2 separate regions of the Homo sapiens genome follow, and region 1 is linked to region 2. The links are contacts of gene promoters, found by promoter capture Hi-C in blood cells and fetal thymus (Javierre and others, 2016). All regions are on one chromosome and are shown on one strand. The core of a region is centred on a gene start or on the middle of the fragment in contact, and the rest is flanking DNA. Distances in the headings are between cores, read along the strand shown. Region 1 holds the start of CRYL1 (crystallin lambda 1). Region 2 holds the start of ZDHHC20 (zDHHC palmitoyltransferase 20).

Evidence for each region. Contacts are between HindIII fragments. The CHiCAGO score rates a contact against its expected background, and 5 or more counts as called.
Region 1: the fragment with the promoter of CRYL1 here is called in contact with the fragment with the promoter of ZDHHC20 in region 2 in 14 of 17 cell types (fetal thymus, total B cells, naive B cells and 11 more); the score reaches 23.7 in fetal thymus.

The regions. Positions count from the first base shown.
Region 1 is chr13:20,524,442-20,527,274 of GRCh38, forward strand. It overlaps CRYL1 (crystallin lambda 1), which reads right to left and starts at 1,416. Exons shown (of 8, transcript NM_015974.3): 1 at 1,313-1,416. The coding sequence starts at 1,353. RefSeq lists a silencer at 1,092-1,641 and an enhancer at 1,822-1,931. The HindIII fragment of the contact is 5,179 bases long and covers 1-2,363 here.
Region 2 is chr13:21,457,973-21,460,672 of GRCh38, forward strand. It overlaps ZDHHC20 (zDHHC palmitoyltransferase 20), which reads right to left and starts at 1,331. Exons shown (of 13, transcript NM_001330059.2): 1 at 1,082-1,331. The coding sequence starts at 1,199. It overlaps LOC124903131 (a long non-coding RNA gene), which reads left to right and starts at 1,575. Exons shown (of 2, transcript XR_007063713.1): 1 at 1,575-2,207; 2 at 2,411-2,674. RefSeq lists a silencer at 1,244-1,623, an enhancer at 1,487-1,656 and a cis regulatory region at 1,572. The HindIII fragment of the contact is 7,258 bases long and covers 1-2,700 here.

The DNA.
Region 1 (2,833 bases), core at 166-2,665, 930 kb before region 2:
ATCTCGGCTCACCGCAACCTCCGCCTCCCGGGTTCAAAGGATTCTCCTGCCTCAGCCTCCCGAGTAGCTGGGACTACAGGCATGTGCCACTACGCCCGGCTAATTTTGTATTTTTAGTAGAGACGGAGTTTCTCCATATTGGTCAGGCTGGTCTCGAACTCCCGACCTCAGATGATCCGCCTGCCTCGGCCTCCCAACGTGCTGGGATTACAGGGGTGAGCCACCGCGCGCGGCCCAAAGTGCACTTTTTAATATGCCTTCACTATTCAACCACGGGCACTCATGGGCCAGAAAGAACAAAGGCACAGTTAACTCCACTGCTCTGGAGAAAAGAAAGCTGACAACAAGGAATCTGATGCCTTCCTTCAGTGGGAAGGAAACACCCTGACATTGGAAGTGGTCTCCACACCGGGTTGTACACTGATGGGGGGCGGAGTCGGGGGCAGGCCAACACCTCAACAGCAGTCACCAAAAAGGTGCTTTTAACTATCAATAGCAAGTATTAACATGTTTATAGATTGCTGCTAACAGCTGGCCAAAGAAAGGTACATACAAATGCCCCTTTTTAAAAAACAAAAATAGCAAGGATTGTAACCGTAGGGGTGGGGGGCGGGGTGGGGGAAGCACACACTAAAAATCAGTTTGGGCAGAATTTAAGCTGTTAAATGGACACACTTAGCAAACTCTCTGGGCTCCATCGGCCCCCACCTCCCCTCTGGAAACATCGCCTCGCCCAGGAATTAGGACTGCGTGTATGTTCGCCTAACACCTGCTGCGGCCTCCAGCGACATCGTCGCCGACAGGACTGCGCTGGCACCCTCCCTGCTGGGCTAGTCCTGTCTCCGTCACTAAACGCCTGTGACCTTAGGTAAACTGCTTAGTCTCAGTATTCTCATTCGTAAAATGGGGATGAGAACACAGTCGTCGCAGGATCGCAGCCAGAATTCGTTTCATTCAACACGGTGCCTGGCACTTCTATGTGGACCTGCGGGCAGACGCGGCGACATTCAACAGAGTCCAGGAACCGCAGGCCCCGCGGCCTGGGCGGTCAACCTCGGAACCTCCTGCAACGCTGGCTCCCGGGAAGCAGACCCAACTCCGCGGGGCGCCTCCACCTGCCAAGCCCCTCCAGCCGCGCCTCTCCCCGAGCCCGCCAGCGCCGTAGGGGCCGCAGGGCGCAGGGCTTCGGAGGACCGGAGGCCGGGGCGGGGACAGCGACCCGGCGCCCACCCCGAGGGCCCCACGCGAGGGCACCACGTCCCCGGCGTCTCCCCGGGCTCCAGGGGCAGCAGCGCGGCTCGGAGCCCTTTACCTGCCAACGATCACCACGCAGCCGGCCGCGGAGGACGCCATGGTTGGGCCGGGGACGCGGCGCCGCGGGCGCTGGGACCAGGCGCCGGCGGAGCTGCGAGCTCTGGGCTCCGGGGAGGGCGGGTCCCGCGCCCATTGGCTGCGCGCGCGGACCGGGAGGGCGGGGAGGGCCGCTTGGTCCCTGAGTGGGGTGCGCGCCGCGGGCCCGAGACACCGGGAGACACACGGCGCGCCGACCCTCGTGGGCAGGGGCAGGACCAGCGCGGGGGCACGTCGGGGGGTGGAAAGCGGGAAGACCACGCGCTTGTGACTGTCAGCATTCACCGTGAAGTCCGTGTCTATAGGAGGGGACACGGGCAGGCTGGCACGGGCTCTAGCGCTAAAGCACCCTAGAGAAACTGTCAGAGAATGTCCCCTTTGCTAATTCGTCTCTGAAAGACGCCTGCCGCTGCCGCCAACTGCGAACTGGGCGCAGGGACTGCGACAGCAGTGAAAGAGAACACCTGATGCGTTCATCTGCGCTACGGAAGGACACGTCTGAATTCCTCCACGGAGCACACTCTGCACTCGGTTTATGTATCAGAAAAAGGAAATGCCCTCGTGCCCTGACTCCTGGCCTTCTTGGAGCCCGGAACAGACCAAGAGGAAGGGGCATCACACATTGCCTGACAGTGGTGTGCGTCCACACAGCACAAGCTGAACGGGAAATGACACAGTCATTAGACAGAGGAGACAGTACTCAAGCTGGAACCGCAGCCAACACTGAGATGATAAAAGGAAGTCTTCCTTTGTTTCCCCTGAGTCAGGAACGTGGAAAGAGAAATCTCAGGGGAGGGGTTAGGTTTTTTTGTTTTGTTTTGTTTTTTAAAGAACAGTTTCACAAATTATCGATAAATATTTGTAAAGTATTCAACCTCAAGAGAAATGAAAAGTAACACAAGGAAGATAAGTCATCTCTCACTCATCAGATTGGCTAAGTCACATGGATTGATTATATTCCCATATCCGTAATGGAGTGTTTCGGACATGCAACTTACACACAGTAGAAGGCAAGCTTAAATGTTGAGGACTTTTTGGAGGGAATGTTACAGTACATTGTTGAGACAGCCGCTAGCCTGAGCAACCGCGCCTGCTCTGGCTGAGAATACAAGGCTCCAAAGCTTCCATCTTCTGATGGAGCAGTTTCTGTAGTCAGTTACACAGGCAGCCAATATAATAATCAAGGCACCCAGGGAGTGAGCATCCTGTGACTGCTCACTACCGGAGGCTATGGGGGCAGCAGACTGGCTTGTTTGCTGCTCCCTGCAAAGTCATGCCTGAAATCCCAGCGCTTTGGGAAGCTGAGTAGTAAATAATAGCTTGAGGCCAGGAGTTCAAGACCAGCCTGGGCAACAAAGCGAGACCCCTGTCTCTACCAAAAAATTAAAAAACTTATCCAGGCTGGTGCCGCCTGTAGTCTCAGCTACTCAGTAGGCTGAGGCAGGAGGATTGCTTGAAGCCAGGAGTTTGAGACCAGCCTGTG
Region 2 (2,700 bases), core at 81-2,580:
TTTGGTCCTAGGTTTTCATAAAAAATTGATATAGGCAGCAGATGTATACAGAACACCCTAGTTGAGGCCAGTTTAAGTGTAAAATACCCACATACTCAAAGCCTAAGAACAATTTACTTAAGACAAAACAATGTTGGAGAAATTGCCCAATATCACAAATGTAGCAGTCACCCCTAAACAGTGTTTTTGATTAATGACAACCAATTTCCTTCAATCTTAAAGGCAACCAATTCAAGCCAGTAGGTTAAATCCTTGAAGTATACTGCAATGCTACTCCTTTTTTCCAGGGAATCAGATGAGAATTTTGTGCTAAGAACTTATCAGGAAAATGGAAGTAACGAAAATTAACACGCCAAAATATGAGTATAAGAAATATAAGCCTCCTTAATAATCAGCCAAGAAAAAAATAATCAGGTTATGTCTCCTCCCACCCATTCTTTCTGTCTTAACCTTCTGCAAAAGCCGGCTGGATTCAGAGTAGAAATAAACGAATTTTACAATGAGTCGAGTACCACCAAAAATCAAAAGTGGGAGCTTACTCGTCCTCCAGGTCTGACCCGCCTCCAGCCCGAGGCCACCAAAAGACACACCTCCCTTCCCCCAACCCGCCACAGCCGGCTCTACAGGTAACAGGCGTTTCTTCTCGCGCAGTTTGAACAAAAACAATCCAGAAGGAACAGATTTGGTTTTTTAAAAAAAATGAACAAAAGCCAAAAAAGCCACAAACACAACCTAAACCTTCTAAGAAGCTCGACTACTCCCGTTCTGCACGTTCCTTCCCAGAAGGATGCAGACCCCCGGTGTCGGCGGGAACCAGGAAGCTCTTGGGGCCTCCCTGGGCCAGACCTGCACCCGGGAAGCCGCCGCAAGGCTTCAGGAGCCCCAGGTCGCCCCAAGGCCGCGCCGCAGGATTGAACAAAGCGGCGGGTGCAGCAACCTCGGCGCTTCCGAGCGCGTTCGGGGCCGGACGCCCGGCGTCCGGCGCTGGCTCCAGAAAGGCGGCGGGTGTGGGGCGCAGAGGCCTATCTCGCGCCCTAGCCGCGGCCCGCGCCCCGCCGCAGTCCCCGGGGACGGTACTCACACACGCAGAGCTCCACCACGTACGCGTAGTAGGACCAGACGACCACGAAGGTGATGAAGAGCACCGGCACCCAGCCCACGACGCGCTGGCAGCAGCGCCACAGCGTCCAGGGCGCCATGTTCCGCTGGCGGCTGCCGAGCCCCGCGTCCCACCGTTCTGGGGAGCGCGGGAGCCCCGGCGACGGTGACTCGGACGCTCCAGGCGGCTGCTGGTCCAGCTCCCCCGCCTCCGAGGCAGGACTTGTGGGAGCAAAAGTCCGAGGCGCCGCCGGGACTCCTCCCGTCCCGGCGCCCAGCCAGGCCCCGCCCCCACCCCACATCCCGTCGCCCCCCTCCCCCCGCGTCCGTCCCCGCCAGCCCGCCCGCCGCGGGCCGCGGGCCGCCCCCGGTCTCCGCGTCGTTGGGGCGGGGTTTCCGCGGCCGGGGAGGCGGTGAGGGGGCGGGGCCGCAGCTCGGGACCGCCCATGGGGCGTGGCGGGGCTGGATGCGGACAGGCTGGGCGGACGCGGGAGGCCGGGGAAGGAGAGGCGAAAAACACGCCCTTGATGGATGAGAGGGACAGGGGATAGCTTTTGTGGATCGAGACTCAATAGGGGAGGGAGACTATGGAAATGATTCCTTAGCTGATTTGTGGATCTTGGCCCTCTCTGTGTACAGAACTCGCTCCACTGGGGTTCCTGGGACATTGAGTAGTTGGGGCACTGTTTCAAACATGACAAGGCCATTCCCCACTCAGTGTGCGAAGAATGCACATTGTTAGAAGGCTCCTCCTGTGATTTTTATGTTCGTCCATCTTGGCGGAACCCCTCCCTTTCTTGAAGATGGAACGGTAGATACCTGTAATTTCGGGTAGAAGCCATGTAGGGTCCATCAGTTTGATTCGTAACCCAAATTTAAGATTGAGTAGCGAGAAGGAAAGGGCATGTAAATGACCCTCTCCTTGCCCCGCAAACGACTAAGGAAATTTAAAGAATTTATTTACAACTAGAGGTTGCTAAGCAATGACGATAATCATATAGAACCCAGAAGCATCACTGTGAAGACTTCACAATGCAAGGTCAGACGCATTAGAAGGGATTCCAGACCGCAATCTTCATACCAGTTCCTGCTACTAGCATTCAGTTTTGGTTAGAATGAATTTTTGTGTTTGTTTTTTGAAACAGGGTCTTCTCGCTCTGTCGCCCAAGCTGGAGTGCAGTGGCACGACCTGGGCTCATTTAAGCCTCGACCTCCCTGCTAAAGCACTCCTCCTGCTTCAGCCTGCAGAGTAGCAGGGACTACAGGCCCGCCACCATGCCCAGCTGATGTTTGTATTTTCTGTAAAAACTAGGTTTCGCCCTGTTGCCATGCTGGCCCTGAACTCCAAGGCTCAAGGAATCCCAACCCCTCTCCGCCTCCACCTCCCAAAGAAGTGCTGAGATTACAGGTGTGAGCCACCACGACCGGCCTACACTGAGCTTTAAATTAGCTACTGCTCACTAAAGTCTCCATGAAGAAGACGTCACCCTTTGCTGTGTCAGAGAAATGTAGTAAAAGCGAGTAAGTATTTAATCACTGCACACTGCTGCTTGAGTAATAAAGCATGTATAAAAGATTCTGTTCTCCCTGATTTTGTGCCTT